2 separate regions of the Homo sapiens genome follow, and region 2 is linked to region 1. The links are contacts of gene promoters, found by promoter capture Hi-C in blood cells and fetal thymus (Javierre and others, 2016). All regions are on one chromosome and are shown on one strand. Each heading gives the region's core, a stretch centred on a gene start or on the middle of the fragment in contact. The rest is flanking DNA. Distances are from core to core; before and after follow the strand shown. Region 1 holds the start of FRMD7 (FERM domain containing 7). Region 2 has its middle 59 kb from the start of HS6ST2-AS1.

Region 1 (3,769 bases), core at 712-3,211:
GCTATCATCATCATCACCACCATTATCATCATCATCACTATCATCATCATCATCATCATCATCAATCTATTATTGTTAAGCAGAGAAGGTACTATTGGATGATTGAATGCTAACTTAAGCTTCTAACTCCTCTGGACAAAGCCACTCACAGTACTGCAGCCAATGCTATTGCCTCTCTGGGTAACACCATGGTTGCTACTTACAAAGCATTCTTCCACAGAGCAAAAGGGATCACATGCTTTGACACCTGAATTGCTGGGTATCAAATCTCTCCCATTATCTTTCCAAGGAACACAATGTGTTGCAGCTGGAAAGAGACAGTTTGACTTGAAGCCAAATCAAGTCTTCTAGTTGCTGGAAGTGGCTCTTCCGTAGGTGAATTTTGTGAAGATATGGTACTGTGTTCCTTACCCACCCTCCACCCCATTTAAATGGATCTGAATTAGACTGCACATTCAACAAACTCTTCTGTCACTTTTTGTCAAAGATTTCTCTTTGAGTTCCTTGAAATATCTATTAAAAACTTAGCCTAAAGCAATATCTTTTGAATACCCAGCTCACTAATTCAGGTACTGCAGCACTGTGAGCATACACCACCAGTCTGCAAATGGATAAACTACTCAAAAGATATTTTCCACCCCTTAAATATAGTTCCAAGAAAGAATAGGAAATGCCTCATACCTCTAATGGAAGCTATTTGCTACAAAAACAAATCATTCAGGTCCGTGGAACTAGAAATGCCTTTTGCGCATAAAACTGAAAGGAAGAGACAGCAAAACAGCAGATGAAGACATGAAGTCATCACTCACAAAGCACATGATTCAAATAAAAATAAAATACTCATTGGAAAAATGGGCTACCCACACACACAACATCATGGCTGAGCCACAGCAGTTGTCAGTTTATGTATAAAAGAAAAAAACCAACATTTTGTATGAATTTCAGAGAAAATAAACTATTTGTCTCTTGTTAGTGGCTAATGTAAATATCAGAGCAAATAGCATTTTTGGTTCCAATAAAAATGTAGAACTTTTCAAAATGCTCATACATAAATCCTGACATCAAAATGTACATATCTTAAGATGTTGGAACATGAGCACCAAATGATGTGCTTAATACATTTGTTCTTTCTTGAAGAGATGAGGTATAATTGTATGCAATCATCTTGTAGCTAGGAATTTATTAAGAACTCTGAACTATAAGTACTAAATCAAACTAAATAGTCTCTTATCCTATTTTTCTCTCTCATACTTGTCATTCCTTCCTGAAGTTCTCATTACAACTACATAATTCTACCCCTTATAACCCATAGGTTTTCTTCAGAAAAGGAGGATAGCTTCCCCCACTCCTTTCCCTCAGAACAACAGTTTTCTCCCCACAAATGCTCATGGGGTGAGACCCACAGACATAATTTCAATGAACAACAATACCTTATTGGGTAAAAGAACTAGTTTATTGCTGCTTTACTTTTTGCAAATAGTTATCCTGTCTTTAAAATTTGCTATTGTTGTCCCTTGAGAAAAGACAACTTGTTCTAAGAGAAAGGTTAATGGAAAAATATGAACTACATTGTGATGTTAAATACAGATTATTTTTCCAAAGCTAAAAATCACAGTCCTCCTTCATTCAGTCCTAAAGAAGACATAACATTGCTCTCTAATGGGCTGTTCACAAATGACAATTATTGAATGAATAATAAAGGAATAATAGCAATGTGATTTCCACTTACATCAACCACAAAAATCTTCTGGGAATCATCCAAAAACTGCACTTTTAAATGTAGCATTCTCAGCGAGGCCGTTGGGCTGCAAGCAGGCTCAGAGTGCTGTGGGTGCTTTCTCCAGGAATTTCACTCCCAGCTGGATGTGGTGCACTCGGGCCCCCCCACCCCCAGCCAGGCATTCCCACTGTCAGCGGGGCACACTTCCGTTTGCTTGAAGTAATGCACACCCAAGGGCATTTGTGCTGCCAAGTGCAGGGGATCAATAGCATCTGGGCAGTCTCCTGTTTGGTCAATATCAAATCTAACTGGACTTCCTCTAGCCTTCTTAAACTCAGCTCCTTTCTTCAAAGAAAAATATAAAGAAAGCAAGCATTTGTGGTCCCTGGGGATTTTCTTTATTTCACAAGGGCACAATTTGAAAACCCTAGATCAAGCTTTAATAAACTGAGAATAGCCATTCTCAAAAGTAAAAAGATTCAAGTTAATCTCAAATTGTACTAGAAATTTCATGGCCAAGCTAGGAAGCATCTATCTATCTATCTATCTATCTATCTATCTATCTATCTATCTATCTATGCTTATATATATCTATATATAATTATATAGATATAATATATCCATATATAATTATATAGATATAATATATCCATATATAATTATATAGATATAATATATCCATATAATTGCTATTATATAGAAACATATATAATATAAAATTATGCATAATTTTAATTATCTGAATTCACATGATTTAGAAATAAAAACTATATAAAAAGGTATATAGAAAACTTCACTTCCACTCCTGTTCCCTCTTTTCTGTGTTCCCAATACACCCCTATTGGTAACCAATTTTTTTTCTTTCTATTCCCATAGAATTTATGTGCTTACATCTATAAAGAAATGAAACAAGGAATACAACTAAGGTCGAACCCCATCTCAGCTGTAAATAACATTCATGTATTCTTGGATAAATGAACTAATTAGGATAAAGAACGTTCTAATAAAACAGTCATCAAAGAATTACATTAATATCATTTTCATTATATAACAATAATTACGATGACATTTATTCTGGACTGAGATAACACTTAAGGCAAGAACTAAGAAAACTTACCTCCATTTGTATTTTTTGTTGACAAGAAGATAATGGGTGAATGATTAAAAGATGCCAAGCACAGTAGATTACATTACGATAGGATTCTTGGCTGAAAGTGGTATGAAAATATAGAAGAAGAAAAGCCAATTTAAAATGTTCAACTACTAAAGAACTAGCTCGTTTATTTTTATAAATGAATAAAGGGTGTCAAATTGTTGTGATATTTAAATTGTACCGGATATGTTTAAAATAGTGATGTAACAGTTTTTATTTTAAAATACCAATATTTATATGACACCAGCAAACACATACTTTGTCAAGTATTTAACTTCCCATGAAAAATTTTAGATGTCAACTTAGATGGGTGAGGGGACACATGATTTTTCAAAATACTTTTGGGGGTCACATGAGCAGAATACTTTGTGGACCACTGCTTTAAAACACTATTTCTCTAAGTACGGTTGAGGGACCAACTTACAGAATCACCTGGGAAGGGTGGCTGACTTTTTAAAAATGCCGATACCTGAACCCCATCCCCAAATTGGGTTGTTAGGTTTGGGGTGGACCCCAAATAGATCAATTTTCAACATGCACTCCAAGTGGCTCTCATGCAAACCATTTAAGAAGCACTACTTAAAAAATAAAAACTAGCATTTTACAGTATTATAGCCATGGCTGAAGAGGGAAACAACCTCACATACATACCTGGACTGAGGATAGAATTGAAATAAAAGCTAAACAAGAGCCGGAGCTCTCAAAATAGCAGCACCCGTGGAGGAGGCTAGAAATAGGAAAAGGTCACCAGGGAAGGAAGGCACTTTTCCTGGAATTCCTAGTACAATCAAAGAATAGAATGGGAATGGAAGGGCTTAGGCAGGCTAAGCCCACTGTGGGCTTTCCACTGTGGTTGCACTTTGGGAGAAAACAGAAGAAAGTCCTTTCCCATCTTG
Region 2 (3,769 bases), core at 931-3,430, 480 kb after region 1:
ATGCAGACTCCAAATCCCAAACTCATTCTGCTGTATGGAGACCCTCCTTTGGAACATGAAAAGCCATGATGAATTTGCGGAACTGTAGAATACCCAGTGCAGCTGAGATGTATCCAAGGAGTTAAGGGAAACTAGGCTAGAAGAATAAGCAGGGTTTAAGTCCCACAAGGCTTTGAAGGACATGCTCAGGCATTTCGACTGTATCCTGAGGGACTGGGAATTTTGGAAGCAAAACAGCAAAATGGTGGTGGAGTTACATGATCAGTTTTGTGTCTTTGGTAGCAGTATGCGAATTGAATTAGAAGATCAAGATTGAATGTAAGAAGACCAGCAGCTCAGTGCTTAAGCCCAAGAACAAGAGGCATCAATTATTCAAGTATCTGCTACTTTGTTAAGTGGATTTATCAGAAAAGTGTCAGAGGTCTCAGTCACTTGTTTCCAGAATCTTCACAAAGGCTTTGCTGCTTCCATTATCCTTCTTCCTACCTCCCTGCTTCTATTCCTCAGTATGATTACAGACTCCTAAAACAGGGTGCTGTCTAGGAGGGAAATCACGCAACAGTGGAAAGCTATTACTCACTCTTTTTGGAAGCCTGTTCCCTCAATACTGTGGCAATAAAGAAAATTCTGAGTTTAACGATGGTGGGGATAGAATAGAGGAGTGGTGGAAGCAAGCAGTAATTCTGCCAGTAACACCAATGAAGCCATGTGGTCTTTTCAACCACGGTACAAGGAACACCTCTCAGCTCTGGATATATTACTCAGATTCTTGCATGAATCAAATAGTGAAAATTCAGGCACACTTTCAGACACCTATGGAAATCTTGGCCATGCTTAACCAGAACTTTATAGAAGTTCACATTCTTTGATCCAATACTTTCATTTCCATGAAATCATTCGAAATACAGCAAAGTTTCATGCATAAAAAGTTTAAATACAGTGATATTTATAACAATGAAAACAAAAACAGGCTAAATGCTAAATCACTTGGAAAAGGCTAAACTATATACTCGATCAATTGATTACTATGTAGGCTTTAAAAAATTACATAGCAGGGAAAATGTTTATGCTAAGATATAATTTTAAAAGATAAAATTGTGAAACTTCACAAAGTTACATGTATTCTTATGATCATGTAAAACAAACAAATCATAAGAAAAATTATGCATAAAAGAAAGACTGGAAGGAAATATAACAAAATGGTGAGACTTGGTATAAATTTTCTACCAACTTTTAAAATACGAATCTATATTTCTTTTATAATAGAAATAATACTGTGGGCTGGGTGCAGTGGCTCACACCTGTAATCCTGGCACTTTGGGAGGCTGAGGCAGGTGGATCACCTGAGGTCAGGAGTTCAAGACAAGCCTGACCAACATGGTGAAAACCGGTCTCTACTAAAAATACAAAATTAGCCAGGCATGGTGGCGGGTGCCTGTAATCCCAGTTACTCGGGAGGCTGAGGCAGGAGAATCTCATGAACCCGGGAGGTGGAGGTTTCTGTGAACCAAGATGGCACCACTGTACTCCAGCCTGGACAACAAGAGTGAAACTCCGAAAAAAAAAAGAAAAAGAAAAGAAAAGAAAAAAAAGAAAGAAAGAAGGAAAGAAAGAAAGAAAGAAAGAAAGAGAAGAAAGAAAGAAAGAAAGAGAAAGAAAGAGAAAGAAGGAAAGAAAGAAAGAAAGAAAGAAAGAAAGAAAGAAAGAAAGAAAGAAAAGAGAAAGAAAGGGAAAGGAAAGGAAAGAAAGGGAAAGGGAAAGGAAAGGAAAGGAAAACAGTTTATTTAAAATTCTGTTTAAAAGTATCTAGAATGCCATGAATTATAAGATGGATTCTGACTTCATGGACAATAAAATGTCCAAAAAACTTATGTGAGACCCTAGGACTGCCCAACTCTAGCCCTACAAAACAGTGGCCAACTCTGCCACTCTTTATCCATCTGATTATGGGCAAGTCACTTAAACTCTCTGAACTTCCATTTATGCCAGGTATAAAATAGAAGTTAATTCCACAAAACAGCTTAGCACCAAGCCTGAAACTTGCACTCAATAAAAGTTAGTTATTATTGCTTGTAATAGTATTGCAATGTCTTCCCTCTAATTCTGATAGAAAGCAAAAATGATTAGAGAAAATTTCCAGCAAGAAGTTTTCCTTTTGTATGTGAAAATGTGAGGATGGGTTTGGTAGGTCTGCATCCACAAAATGACTTCTCTAATGTTTACATTTTACTTACATTAATTAACACAGAGTCATGACACAGGCAAGGGAGGCATCTAAACAGCAAAGGTCAGAGAACAGGTTTCTTTTATATATTTATTTCAAAAGACTCATTGCACTATGTAGAGAAAGAGCATGGGGTTTATGAAACTGCAGGTTACTCATTTAAACTCTGGGTGCCACACCTCACTGTAGGATTAGAAGGGGGCTCTCTCAGGCATTAGCCTACTCCCCCAGCACTACTTCCAGGAGCAAACAATTGCAGTCCTTGGCATAAGTGGATTGTGACAGATCTACCTGGTGAACATTCAGAAAGTGGGTTTATTTATTAATACCTTTCTCTTGCCCACAATAGATTTGAGACAGCTACATTTAAAAAGAAAATGGGGAGAGCCAAAGCAAGGAATAAGTTCCTACTAGGAACAGATGTATGGGAAAGTATTCTTTATTGCATGGAAGGAAGGGGAAATAATGTGGGTCTTTGTGTTGGACTGTGTGGGAAGGTAGTTCAAACCATGACACTAAAGTAAAAGGAAATTTTAATGTACATACACACACACAGACACACACACACACACACACTAGCCATCACAGCAGGCAGCCATGAGCTGCCTAACTCTCCATATGCACAGAATTCATATTGAGCAATGCCAATTGATACTGAACATTCCAAACTGTCTTGCAGGACTTTCACCCTAAAGTGTGCAAAGAATGCATCTTGATCCTTTGAAGAATTACAGAGATGTCTCATCTTTGGAAATTCTTGGAAACCGGAGTTCCTGGAGATTAGAAAAAGCCAACTAAAAAAAATCTACCTTTTCAGAAAGGATAGAGAGTCAACATAGAGATGAAAGATTGAATAACCCAATTTTACTCACAGGATAATATGTTTTTAAAATTCCTCAATGAAAATAAAAAGAACGATAAGAATAGCACAGAGTACTGAGTAACAATCAGCACTACATTATGAAGAAAATAGTCATGCTGACCCAATCTAATTTTTGTTGGGTAACAGATGACAAGCCTAATGGATTTGGGGCAGCAAACAACGTAATATGTATTAACCTTGGAAAGGCTTTTGATTCTGCTCCTAGCCGTGACCTACTCATTAACTAGCTTGAAAAATATTGTTCACACCACATACAAGTGGCACTAGTGGATGATAGTGACCAGCTGGGTTTTGATAGCTCAGTAAGAACCAGAGATAGGGAATCACAGTGCATATTGTTTCTCAGGGAACTGACCTAAGTCTGATACAATTTAATATTTTCATCAAAACTTCAGTGGGTGGAAGAGAAAACATGCCTGTTAATTACAGGAAAATAAAGGAATGAAGATTTTTAAACCCAGAGATAAGAAAATACATGATAAATGGTAACTATTTTATCCTCTACCTCTAACAGCAAAACGAAAACAGATTTGGAAGAATATAGGAATGAAGGGAAGAAGGGAGATAAGACACTAATCTTTGACACGTAGCACCTTCTAGAATAAGACAAAAAGGAGGTCAAAGAGCGTGAAGATGAGAGAGTAAGTAAATGATGGGGATCT

Evidence for each region. Contacts are between HindIII fragments. The CHiCAGO score rates a contact against its expected background, and 5 or more counts as called.
Region 2: a fragment that was not itself captured here is called in contact with the fragment with the promoter of FRMD7 in region 1 in 6 of 17 cell types (non-activated CD4 T cells, naive CD4 T cells, naive B cells and 3 more); the score reaches 7.3 in non-activated CD4 T cells.

The regions. Positions count from the first base shown.
Region 1 is chrX:132,126,059-132,129,827 of GRCh38, forward strand. FRMD7 (FERM domain containing 7) reads right to left here and starts at 1,962. Exons shown (of 12, transcript NM_194277.3): 1 at 1,730-1,962. The coding sequence starts at 1,786. The HindIII fragment of the contact is 2,038 bases long and covers 118-2,155 here.
Region 2 is chrX:132,606,721-132,610,489 of GRCh38, forward strand. No RefSeq gene overlaps it. Among named protein-coding and RNA genes, the nearest start is that of HS6ST2-AS1, 59 kb to the right of the region's middle. The HindIII fragment of the contact is 5,115 bases long and covers 1-3,769 here.